Regions from separate parts of the Homo sapiens genome. Here region 1 is linked to region 2. Evidence: promoter capture Hi-C in 16 types of primary human blood cells and fetal thymus (Javierre and others, 2016). All regions are on one chromosome and are shown on one strand. The core of a region is centred on a gene start or on the middle of the fragment in contact, and the rest is flanking DNA. Distances in the headings are between cores, read along the strand shown.

Region 1 (6,694 bases), core at 1,665-4,164, 1.4 Mb before region 2:
AAGTCAGCCTAAACCACTGAAACAACTCCCATCAGCTATCCCCACTCTGTGCTTTCCTTGCAGCATCGAAAGCTGTTCCTCCAAGGCTAGTACGGGCTCCTTAGCAAAACAGCTACAGTCAGGACAGAAATATGGTGTGGCCCAGGGCTCAAGCTATTTCATCCCTTGGACACCATCTGGGAAGCCAGTAGGTGCAGCGGATTTTTTGGCCTTTGTCTTTTCTGCCATCTATTTCATTCACTTGCCTCGCAGTCAGTCCCCAAATAATCTCCAACAGCAGAGAAGGGAGCTGGAAGCAGCACAGAACCTGTGGTTGGAAGCCAGCACAGGGGATGACAATTTTAAAGTCTAGATGTTCGAGAGTTTTAGAGATCTATCATCCCCAAACCCACGGCTGAGAACACCTGGGCATCACATCTGGGCAGGATCTTTGACTATTCCAAACCCTTGGTTTGGGGCAATGGCCTCTTATAGAGCCTTGGATGGGAAGAAAACTTAGAATAGGCCACTTACGGCTCTTAAACTTGGGTTGGACAAGAGGAAATTTAGAATGAGCAGCAGTATATACCTGGTATTAAAAAGAGAACAAAGACACCTCAGAAGTACAATGAGTTTATTCATTTCCTAGGGTTGCCCCAGCAAAGTACCACAAGCTGGGTAACTCAGAACAGGAATCTATTCTCAGAATTGCTACTGGAGGACAAAAGTCTGGAATCAAGGCATTGATGGGGCTGGTTCCTTCTGGAAGCTCTGAGAAAGAATCTGTTCCTCATCTTTCACTCCTAGTTCCTGGTGGCTCCTGGCAAATCTTGGCATTCCTCGGTTTGTAGATGCATCGTTCCAATCTCTGCCTCCAGTATCTCGTGGCCTTCCTCCTGTGTGTCTCTGTGTCTTCACCTGGCCTTCTTACGAGAACAACAGTCAATGGATTTAGTGTCTACCCTAATCTACCACCACCTTAACTATTTACATCTGCAGAGACCCTATTTGCAAATAAGGTGACATTGTGAGGTTCTGGACGAGCATGAATTTTGAGGGAACATTGTTCAGCCCAGTACAGAGAGAAATCAGAAAAGAGAGAGCAAATAAATGAGTGTAGCTAGGCCTACTGCACAGGCTGATATGAACGTCTCACTCCCTTCTCAGATGTTCATTTACAGATGAGGAAAAGAGCAGAAGGCAGGCAGGCACTGAAGTTTCTTCCCACCCTTGTGTTCTTAGATATTAAGTGGAAAGAAAACCCCACACAGGTAAGATCCCAGTTAATCAAAATGTCACAGCAGGGCCTTTTCTCCAAGTCCACTAAGTTGATGGATGAGTAAGTTTGACTCAGCCAGACTTCCATCACCTTTAAAAGTTAATCAGTGTTTACAGAATAAAAGAGATGAAGATAATCCTTAGAAATTTGGAATGATAAATGATCATAAAGCCTATGGCTTCGCTGATGCTTCTGCATTTACCATCATTTTCCTGGCAGCTCCAGTTCAAAGTGCTTCGGGGGACCTTTTCTTCTCACAGCATCAACATAAATGGCCGTCTTCTATATGTGAGCACTCAGCACTCCTGGCAATTTCGTGGCAGCTGTGTGGCGATAAGAGGCCCTTTATTTTTTCAAGCACATTTGTGAAGTGTGTGGGGAGCCGACTAAAATTAATGAACTTTTCTTGCCAAAAAGAACTAGGCTCCAAATTCGGTCATGTATTGCCAAATAGACGGTGTGAATGAAAGTCAGTTCGTGGGGAGAATAAGAACATTTCAAAGGAGCACAAGTTGAATACAAGCAGTCCCTGACTCACTTATGTGGACTTAAAGATATTCCTCATCTGGGAAAAATAAGTCCAGACCTATAGCTGCGTCGACCACAGTTCCCTCCATCCCCAGTTTCTCTCAGCCCTCTGCATCCCCTCAACCCCCACCTTCCCTCCACTGCTGCCTGGGTCCGCCATCTGCCGGCCCTTCCATCCTGTGGTCAGGCACCTGCCCTCACCTGGCTCACCCCAGGGCCCACAATTGCACAGAGTAAAAAGGAGAAAGGAAGGAATCTCCAGTAGAAGCTTCTCTGCCCTGGGGCTGGCCACCTTCCAAACCTTAAACCTACTGATACGGTTTAGCTGTGTCTCCACCCAAATCTCATCTCGAATTGTACCTCCCGTAAATTCCTACACATTGGGGGAGGGAGCCAGTGGGAGTTATTAATTGAATCATGGTGGACTGTTCTCGTAGTAGTGAAGAAGTCTCATGAGATCTGATGGTTTTAGAAAGGGAAACTTGTTTCGCTTGGCTCTTACTCTTGTCTGCTGCCATGTGGATGTGCCTTTCACCTTCCGCCATGATTGTGAGGCCTCCCCAGACACATGGAACTGTGAGTCCATTAAACCTCTTTCTTTTGTAAATTGCCCAGTTTCGGGTATGTCTTTATCAGTAGCATGAAAACAGACTAATACACCTACCCAGATCCTGCCTTCTCCAACCCTAAACACCCAAATCTGGGTTTTCTACTAAAAAAGAAAAGAATGTTTTATCATTTATCCCAAATTCCATGACACTCACCTCCATGGTCTTTGCTGTTACCTGGCATTTTTGCAGCCCCAGGTCCAGCCTGCATTTGTCTGCAACTGAGGCATTAGGCCCCTGGGACTGTCAACCCCAAAATGCTTTCCCCAGGAAGCCAGCACACTGACCAGGGAGTCCACAGGGCCTTAGCACCTACAAAGCTGCCACATGCAAGTGACTGCCCAGAGAGGGCAGTGGGCTTGGTTCATCCAGCAGACTGTAATTGAAGCTGAATGCAATTAATTGTATAATTTTGAGTCATTTCAGATTAATTCTGCTAAAATCACAACATGAAACTAGGGCATGAGGAGGAATTGTTTTCAGAAAGAAGCCAGACATAAATAAAGTCTACATAAGCACTGGCTTCACATCCAATTCTGACAGTTTAGCATGATAACAACTGAGGTTATCAATAAACAAATTAATTTAGCCCAAATACACAGAAATCATATCCCACAGCTTTAAAAGCCTGGATGCTCCTGCTATTGGATCTGAAAAAACCCAAAGTATTCTGACTTGCATGTAAGCTAAATGGTCACACTTAAAACCTTAAAAAATATCTGCGTGTTTACATCAGGGAGAGAAAATTTGAGTAAAACCCAATGTTAGTCAGAACAACCCAGAAGAGTCCCAGGAAGCCCTACTCTGATTTTTCTCCCCAGTGGATGCCCAGCTCTTAAACCAATTCGACCTACAGCAGACGAGGGCGGCGCAAAGGGAGGCAAGCAGGGCAGTTCTAAAGATCAGGGGGGCTGGGCGCAGTGGCTCACGTCTATAATCCCAGCACTTTGGGAGGCTGAGGTGGGCGGATCACCTGAGGTCAGGAGTTCGAGACCAGCCTGGTCAACATGGCGAAACACGTTTCTACTGAAAACACAAAAAATTAGCTGGGCATGGTGGCGGGCGCCTGTAATCTCAGCTACTTAGGAGGCTGAGGCAGGAGAATCGCTTGAACCCAGGAGGTGGAGGTTGCAGTGAGCTGAGATCAAGCCACTGCGCTCCAGTCTGGGTGACAAAGCAAGACTCTATCTCAAAAAAAGAAAAAAAAAAAGAAAAAAAGGATCACGGGACCCAAGGCAAGGGGACTGTGGATCTGTACGAGGGCACATGGGTTCTAGTTCCCAGTCTTTTCCTGGGATTCCCTCAAGTCCCCAATGCCTGCCTTACCCCAGAGCCTCTGTTCCAAGTCAGGAGCTCCATCTTCAGTGGTTTCAAGCTTGGGATATTTCCACATCCGTGACCACCTAGCCAGTGGGAAGTGAGGGGAATGAGGGCTCCAGTTCCATTTCCTAAGCCACTGTGGGGAAAAATATTCTTGGCCTTCCAGGCAGGACTCCTAAATGCCACCAACTGTACAAATGTGGCTGAATGTGACACACAGCACATCTCGATGCTACAAGCTCAATGGGGGTTCAAACAGGCACTTGCGGTTAAGACACCAGCCCTTATAAACCTCATAATTTCTAGTTATGTGTTTTGTTTGTTTTTTTGTTTGTTTGTTTTTGAGACGGAGTCTCGCTCTGTCATCCAGGCTGGAGTGCAGTGGTGCCATCTCGGCTCACTGCATGCTCCGCCTCCCAGGTTCATGCCATTCTCCTGCCTCAGCCTCCTGAGTAGCTGGGACTACAGGCACCCGCCACCACGCCCAGCTAATTTTTTGTCTAGTTATGTTTTGTGACCCAAACAGTCACTGTAGAAAGGAAGTTCTGGAACCCACTGGTGGGTTTCTTGGATGTTGTTTTCATCACAGGTGCAGAGGCCGCATTCCTGAAGGCTTCAGTGCAATAGGAACAAGCCGGGCCAGTTCCTATCAGGCAACAAAAACACTCCTCGAGGTTCTCAGAACGCACAACATTTCAAGAGGAAATAAAAACCCCAAGATAAATTTCGGCAGATCCTTATTCTCGCTATACACAGCTGCACTTCTCCCTCCTCACCCTGCTTCTTCCCTAGTTCTGTCTTCCTGTTAAGCCTCACAAAAACAGATGATCCTTTCCCGAAGGGACCACATAGAAGGTTCTGGAAGCACCTGTGCTGCACCTGGATTCTGGGGCTCTCCATTCCTATCTGAGGTCTGGCTCCTTAGCAAACGCTACATTGGCTAAGAAAAAGATGAAGACTTCAATGAGGTCATCATAGGCACCCAAATAAAAAGAAAGGAACAGAGGTGCAGACAGTTCTCTGGAGAAAATGAAGCCACCGGCAGTATTTTCAGTGAATCAAATTGGAGGGTCACCTGATGTCTTGGTTCGCTGGGTCAGCTTGGACGCACCCTGCTGCATGGAGGGGCCATACACGGCTTCATATAAATGAGGGACGCACACTGCAAAATGAAATGTCTGCTGGAGGCTGTGGTAGAGGAAGCCCTAATCTGATTTACCTCCCGGCGGTGTCCTGCTTTCAATCCAATTTTCTGGACAGTTAGATTGAGATAGAATCAAAATGGGATTTGCCAGGAGCAAAAGAAAGATATTTCTGTCCCCTGGCCTTTGTCTTTATTAGAGATCACCCTAGAGTTAGCCAAATTGTACAGGAAATCCAAGGTTCATCATACAACTTTGCTTCAGAGCCTTTGACTCAGGAGCTGTGGCTGGCGGGCAGTGCTGTGGACAGGAAGGCAGACCTAGGGATCCTTCCTTGCCCCGGCCCCTCCTCTCCATCTCTCGCCCCACTCCCTCTGCTCCACCCACCCGTTAGGGGGCGCTTCCTTATCCAGGCTCCTGACCAGAAAAGCAAATACAAATATGATCAAAGTACAACTACTCCTCCAAAATACCCGGTCAACCCTTAGACATTCGCTACAACATGAAAATTAAAATCCCTCTTCTCCTGTAGATGTATTCTAATTAGAAGAAACAGATGCTCATATCATTCTGTGAAAGAGCAAAATTTCATTCATATATGGCCTGCATGTTACCAAAAACAAAAGCCCAAAATGTGATAATAATCAAAAAGCATCTTCCACTGAACTTGTTTTAGGTAATAAATAAATAAATAAATAAATAAATAAATAAATAAATAAATTCTAACTCCGTATTCTAAAAGTTTTGAAATTAAAGAATGGAATCCTATTATATTCAATCATTAGAATATCCACACGTAGATCAAATCTGGAAAAAAGGCACAGTTTAAGTTTTAAGAGGATTTAATATGTGGCTTCACTAGACCAGCATGGATACTTTGTTCCCTTCTAAGATGAATAGCAATGTCTAATTTCCTAAATTTCATCATTTTAAATTAAGATATTACTTGGTTAATAGAGTCAAAGAGAGAACAGAGATCCACAGAACATATTCACTTCATCATTTCTTTATAGATCACTGGAAACACACCAAGTCTTCCTTTTCTTCCATTCACTCAACAATCTTAACAGAGAGACAGAGTGAGACCCACAGAGCAGGTCATGTTACTTTCAGCAAAATTCTAGAACTTCACTCAGCAGTAAACCCCTGCATCACAGTTCCAAACAGTGCTATTTTCATCAAAAGTTAAAAACCAAAATGTTTTACTAATCGCATCAGTTAGCGGTTTTAAAAAATAATTCAGCACAGCTTATGAAGACAAATGTACTAGTACAGGGGCCCATGATTGCGTAACCAAAACATCAGAACAGCATGAGCTGGTACCAGCTTTTGCGGTAATTACCTTCTGTGAAAGCAGACGCCTACCCTTCCCCAAAACTGTCCCTGCAAAGAGAGTGTTAAGTGTGTGGATGAAAGTCATCCGGTAATAACTAATCCACAAGAGAAAAAGTGCACCTGTGCTGAGGTCTTCTTCCAACCGCAGCTTTCTGTTTCCTCCCCTGCCTCCCTTTTCCTGGGACTTCTCTTTCCACCTGCATCCCACCTCACTGTGGAGGCCTTCTGTGAACTGTGCACCCTCTGACCACACACCTGTGGGACATGGCCGTCTTCAGGTACCAAAGATGGGGACCCACGTTCATTCATCAGACTCTGTGAAAGGCATTTCTAACTCGTTTTACTTAGCACTCAGTACCACCCCTCTGCGGTACCATTGCCCCTACTTCCAGACAAGGAGACTGTGACTAAGAGGGACTGTGTCTCTCTTCCACCAAGCTGTTCCAATTCTTGCAGACTGGCTGGGGCATCCCTGCTCTGTCCTGTGAACTTGGCTCTGCTGG
Region 2 (6,647 bases), core at 2,712-5,211:
TCATGTTGCAGCATGTGTCAGCACCTCATTCCTTTTTATGGCTGAATAATTGCAATGTATAGATATGCGACATTTGGTTTATCCATTCGTTCATCGATGGACATTTGGACACCTTTTGGCTATTCCTTTTTTGTTGTTGTGGGTTTTTTTAACTTTTATTTTAGGTTTAGGAGTACATATGCAGGTTTGTTATACAGGTAAACTGCTCATCTCGAGTTTGGTGTACAGATTATTTAGTCACTCAGGTAATAAGTATAGTATGCGATATGTTTTTTGTTTTGTTTCGTTTTGTTTTGGTTTTTGAGACGGAGTTTCGCTCTTGCTGCCCAGGCTAGAGTGCAATGGCGTGATCTCGGCTCACTGCAACCTCCGCCTCCCAGGTTCAAACAATTCTCCTGTCTCAGCCTCCTGAGGAGCTGGGATTACAGGCGCGTGCCACCATGCCCGCCTAATTTTTGGTATTTTTAGTAGAGATGGGGTTTCATCATATTGGCCAGGCTGGTCTCAAACTCCTGACCTCAGGTGATCCGCCCGCCTCGGCCTCCGAAAAGTGCTGGGATTACAGGTGTGAACCACTGCACCCGACCAGGTATTTTTTTTTTAATCCTCTCCCTCCTCCTGCCTTCCACCCTCAAGTAGGTCCCAGTGTCTGTTGTTCCCCTCTTTGTGTCTTGTTTTTTAGAGATAGGGTCTCACTCTGTCACACAGACTTAGAGTTCAGTGGCATGATCATAGCTCACTGTAGCCTTGAGCTCCTGCATTTAAGCAATCTTCCTGCCTCAGCCTCCTGAGTAGCTAGAACTACAGCTATGTGCCACCACATCTGGCTATTTTTTTTTTTTTTTTTTTGAGACAGGGTCTGGCTCTGTTCCCCAGGCTGAAGTGCAGTGGTGCAATTTTGGCTCACTGCAGCCTCCGCTTCCTGGACTCAAGCGATTTTCCCACCTCAGCCTTCTGAGTAGCTAGGACCACAGGTGCACACCGCCTTCCCCTACTTTTTATATATTTTTTTGTAGACAGGGTTTCACCATGTTGCCCAGGCTGCTCTTAAACTCCTGGCTTAAGTGTTTGGATTACAGGCGTGAACCACTGCAGCCGGCTAATCTCTTGGCTACCATAAATGGTGCTGCCATGAACGTGGGTATACAAGTTTTTGTTTGAACACTGTTTTCAATTCTTTTTAGTATTTTGGGGGGTATACCCAGGATAAAATTACTGGGTCATATGGCAATTCTATGTTCACCTCTTTGAGAAACCACCAAGTCTCTAACTCATTTTTATGTTTACAATTTACAAGGTGTCTTGATCACCAGTTAGAAGAAGCTGGACAGCTGCAGCCAAACCCCTAGGTTGGACCCAAAGAGGTCTCTTTTTCTTTCTTTCATTCATTCATTCTTTTTCTTTTTTTTTTTTTTTGAGACAGAGAGTCTCACTCTGTCACCCATGCTGGAGTGCAGTGGCCTGATCTCGGCTCACTGCAACCTCCGCCTCCCACGTTCAAGCAATTCTCCTGCCTCAGCCTCCCGAGTAGCTGGGACTACAAGCGCCCACCACCACTCCCCACTAATTTTTGTATTTTTAGTAGAGATGAAGTTTCGCCATGTTGGCCAGGCTGGTCTCGAACTCCTGGGCTCAAGTCATCTGCCTGCATCAGCCTCCCAAAGTGCTGGGATTACAGGCATGAGCTACTGTGCCCGGCCTTCTTTTTCTTTCTTTCTTCCTTCCTCCTTCCTCCTTCTTCTTCTTCTTCCTTCATTTGACTTTCAGGTCAAAGAGGTCTCTTTTTAAAAACTACACTGACTAGAACAGCCAGACTTGATGTGAGCCAAGTTTGTTCCAAGGCAAGCTTACACGCAGGGCTTTAAACAGCTTTCTCTGCTGCTCTGCATGTCACGACATGAACTGGCTGGGCAGGAATACCTTCCTGCCTCCTAGGCATTCTTGGTTTTCCATTATATTACACACACTTCTGAAAAAAGATGTTAACTACCTAACTTACAAGTTTCTCTCCTCTTTGTTGGAGTTCAGATTAGCACCTGGGGTCAATGCAGAAACAGTGCTCGGGGACAGGTTCTATGCCCCAATCCTGGGAGAGGCGAGTCCTTGCATGGTTAGAGAACAGGGCCTCCCAAACACTAGATGAGATGATGGAAAAATTCTCCATCCAGGGCAGGCTTTTACCATATATTTTGCCTGACAGCACTGCTCAGTGATTCTGACTCTTATCAATCCACAGATATTGGAGGTGAGCCTACTCTACTTGTATATTGTAGGTTGTCCACCCTCTGGGCTTGCCAGAGCCACAGGAGATAATCCTACTACAGGCATTGTTTACTGCAGCCAATCTACTGAGTCGAGGCTTCTCGGTCATTAACCCAACCCCAGGGAGTAACTGATTAGTACCGATTTTAAAATTTAAACCTGTTCGGGAGTTTCTTGGAATGCTGACCTCTTACCTCCGCTCCCTTATACATACGAAGTTTCTGAGCCACAGGAGCCCAAAGCTACGTTGCATTGCCCAAAACAGGGACAGACCAAAGTGGCTTTTTCCACTTGAAACTAAATACTAAGAATGAAGAGGTCGGCTCTCGGGGGTCCCGGTTAAGCAGTTTCTCTGCCAACCCACAGCTGTCACTTGTGGCTTGTCTCCTGGCCTCCTTTCAGGTGTCCTGGCCTGAATCTGCTGTTAGGACAGAAAAAAAGTCCCTGGACGGGTCATATCCTCTGTAATCTGGCAGGAAAGCTAAAATTTGCGTGCTCCCATTCCTCGTTGTGTTTGTGTATCTGCTTCCTTGTTGGGAAGAGCCTACATCACAGTGTCCGGTGTAGGGGATTTTCACCATGACCTCACCCTCCTGCTGCCACTCGCTAATTCCGGCGCGGCCAAGCGTCCCTGAAGTCACATCACAGCCCAGGTGGAATGCACGAGTGAGCCATTAAATGCCCCTGGTAGCACGTCTCAAGTGAACATCAACTCCAGTTCTTTCCCCTCACAGAGAGCCCTGGTAGGGGTCTGAAAATGCCAGAAAGAGCTGGAAGTGGGGGTGGACGACGTCTGGTTACCGTTCTGGGATTCGGAGACTAGAAGGTCAAGGGAGTCACTTTAAGAAAACACACCAGGCCTGGGCCTGGTGGCTCTGTCTGGAATCCCCGCACTGTGGGAGGCCGAGGCTAGAGGATCGCTTGAGCTCAGGAGTTCGAGACCAGCCTGGGCAACATAGGGGGGAGCCCCTGTATCTAAAAATAAATACAAAAAATTTAGCCGGGTATGATGGCACACGCCTGTACTCCCAGCTACTCGGGAGGCTGAGGCGGAAGGATGGCTTGAACCTGGGAGGCGGAGGTTGCAGTGAGTCGAGATCGAGCCAATGCACTCCAGCCTGGGCGACAGGGTGAGACTCCGTCTCAAAAGAGAAAAAATAAAATGAAATAAAGAAAATGCACCAAAGGCCTGCCAGGCTCACGCCGGCTGTTCTGTTCGAATAACTTTCGAGTCCGTGGCCTCGAAATGGGTCGGGTGGGCGGTGACAGCGGGCAGCGGGCGCGCAACGCGGGAGAAAGGGAGGCTAAGTGGGAGCCCAAAGAACCGCGTCCGGGACCTGGTCTCCGGCCTCCCGGCCTTGGGGAAGGAGCCCTTCTGCCCACAAGTGGGCTCAGGCCATGAAAGGGAAACAGAAAGTCGGGCTCCCCAGCCTGGCCCACGTGACCGCGGTTCCTCAGCCCTCCCCGCGCGCCCGGCCGCGGCTGCGGGCGCGGGCACCCGAGCGACACATCGAGCTCGTGACTCGCCGCCCAGGGCGGGAGGCGGAGAAGCGGCCGCGGCGTGCGAGCGCGCCTCCGGGAGGCAGCGGGAGCGCGCACGCTCCGGGGCCACCGCCCCTCCGGGGCCGGGCCCGCCCTCCTTCCCTCCCTCCCTCCCCCGCTGTCCTGGCCCGCCCTGCCCGGCCCGCCCTGCGAGTCAGTTCGCTGGTTCCCTCCCTCCCTGGGCGCGCTCGGGCCGCCGCCGCGCTCCCCGCCCTCGAGCCTCGGTGCCGGAGCCGCCCGCCGCCGGAGGAGGAGGTGGAGGGAGCCGGAGGGGCCCGCCGAGGCGGCGGCGGCGGCGGCAAGATGGCGGACTTCCTGCCGTCGCGGTCCGTGCTGTCCGTGTGCTTCCCCGGCTGCCTGCTGACGAGTGGCGAGGCCGAGCAGCAACGCAAGTCCAAGGAGATCGACAAATGCCTGTCTCGGGAAAAGACCTATGTGAAGCGGCTGGTGAAGATCCTGCTGCTGGGCGCGGGCGAGAGCGGCAAGTCCACCTTCCTGAAGCAGATGCGGATCATCCACGGGCAGGACTTCGACCAGCGCGCGCGCGAGGAGTTCCGCCCCACCATCTACAGCAACGTGATCAAAGGTGCCGGGCCGGGAATGGGGGCCGGGGGTTAAGGGCAGGGGGGCTGGGGCGGCGGCGGGTGCGGGGCGGGGCACCGCCCTGGTCCGCTGTGTCGCTGGCGAAGGAACGGGCCCGGCGGGCGGGCTGGCGGGAAGGGGGCGCGCCCCGGCAACTGGCCCTGCCCGCCCGGGGTGCCCTCGCGCCCCAGGGCGAGAGGATGCTCGGGGTCGCCCTGCTCTCCCGCTTGTCTCCCCGGTGGGCGTCACGGCCATTCCCCCACCCCCCACCGCGTCCTGGTCTCTCCCCCTGCGAGAGGGAAGTGGGGCGAGCTGGGTGCTGCCTCGGGGTGTGGGCAGACCTCTCCTGTCCTCCCCGCTGCGGATGAGGCAGGAACACCAATAGCAGCCCTAGCCGCTTCACCCCCATCCCCTGCTCGGGCGATGTGGGCCGAACCTCGCTACCCTGGCTGGGTGACCCGAGTCACATGGGGTCGCATGCGCTCCCAACTCCCTGCTTCCTTGGCCGTCTCCTAAGCAAGCGAGTTCTGGAACCGTCGCAATAAGGGAACTTTTTGCCCGAGACTTCTTGTCAAGGGCGTAGGGTGACAGCCTCCTTTTGGGCGAGAATATGAAACTTGAGGAGTGTCAGGTTGACTGTACTGGAATCAGGAGAGAGTGGACCCATACAGTTAGCATGAAAATGTAGCATCTGTGCTTTTTCGCCCCAGTGTCACGGTCAGGTAGGATGTTTGCGTGTGATTTCTGTGCAACACGTTCCACTCTCCTTTTCGCTAAGTAACTGGGGGCTGGCAGGAAGGGAGTACCACTGCTTCTATTTAGATGAAATGTAGTAGTAAGAAGACTGGCCTAAAAGTCATGTGGATCCTGTACAGATGGAGACAATGAATGAGTGTTGAGTTAGATAATTGGCTCGGCTCTTTATTGACAGTAGTTTTAAAATTAAACTTTGTTCTTAAGTGAAAAATAAACAAGTTGTTTATTTCTGGGCATTCAAAGAAATCGAAAAGATGGTTTTTATTTTGTCATTTGAAAGATAATTAACACTCGTTTCTGCGTGTCAAGTATGTTCTATAGAAAAGGCATTTTGGCAAAATTTAGGTGCAGCGCCTGGTAACTCAGGTGCATCTGGATTTTATTTTATCTGGGGAGCAGTTTAGGAGTTTGCTACAGATTGCAGGTCTTTTTAAGTGGGATTTTTGTTCAGGAAGTACATAAGGGACTTCTGCATGTCACCCCCCCGCCCCCTCCCCGCCAACCGCCTCCCGAGCTTCCAGCGTTTGGGTAAAGGAAAACTGCCTGAAGAGCCAGGCATTATGGAGTAATGAATTAGAGAGAATCACTAGACCACAGCCAGCTCTAGCCCTAGTACCTCTGCAGTTAAACTATAAAGAACAGTTGTATTTATCCTGCTGTAATGTTTAGCTCAAAACTAATTAAGGTCTCTTTCAAGGCTGCAGACTCTGCCTTGACAGTCCTTAATTGAAGGTACCTTTGTAACCTGATGCAGCTGAACTTAAGGAATTATGTTAATGAATAGCATCAACATGTTAACTGACTGTGAGCCTGGTAAACACCTCGTTCTTAATGTACACTGAGTTGTAAGTGTGATCTACGTTGAGCATTGATTATGAGATGATGTAAGTCATCAGGAATCTAGTTTTTTCAAGTTGACATGAAATTTGACAGTAGAACAGTTTCTCAGGCTGGGCGTGGTGGCTCACTCCTGCAATCCCAGCACTTTGGGAGGCCAAAGTGGGAGGATGGCTTGAGCCCAGGAGTTCCAGACCAGCTGGGCTACATAGCCAGACCTCGTCTCTATTAAAAAACAAAAACAAAAAAACCCCACCCGTTTTTCAGTTATTCAGATGACTTCCTAATAGCCAAGTGACTGTTCAGATTGATCAAACTTAATAAAAGTAATAGATCAGTGATAGGAAAAATGAGTTTCAACTAACCTCTGTGAGTTGGAGTCCGACTTTGTATTATTTTGCAGTTGATCTTCCTCCCTTTTAGGGAAATTGAAGGCCATCCTGTAACTTAAACTGGATTGAAACTTGGGCTGGAAGAAGTTTTTAAATTTTGAATGTGTTGCTAGAAGACTCAATGTTGGGTTAGGGTGCCGAAGCAACAAACAGAACATGGAGCTATAGTAGTTGGTTCTTAGTGTTTCATAAATGAACATCTTTTAGGCTCATAAAACCTTGGTTGTGTCTGTTTTCTTCTGAGCTTGGACATTGTTGGTCTGTGCAGCATAACTT

The links. Contacts are between HindIII fragments. The CHiCAGO score rates a contact against its expected background, and 5 or more counts as called.
Region 1: a contact is called between a fragment that was not itself captured here and the fragment with the promoter of GNA13 in region 2, in 1 of 17 cell types (M0 macrophages). The highest score is 5.1, in M0 macrophages.

What each region holds. Positions count from the first base shown.
Region 1 is chr17:66,450,227-66,456,920 of GRCh38, reverse strand. All of the region lies in intron 2 of PRKCA (protein kinase C alpha), which reads right to left. Among named protein-coding and RNA genes, the nearest start is that of PRKCA-AS1, 37 kb to the right of the region's middle. The HindIII fragment of the contact is 1,715 bases long and covers 2,057-3,771 here.
Region 2 is chr17:65,054,054-65,060,700 of GRCh38, reverse strand. GNA13 (G protein subunit alpha 13) reads left to right here and starts at 3,961. Exons shown (of 4, transcript NM_006572.6): 1 at 3,961-4,390. The coding sequence starts at 4,108. RefSeq lists silencers at 3,674-4,183, 4,464-4,723. The HindIII fragment of the contact is 5,158 bases long and covers 1,849-6,647 here.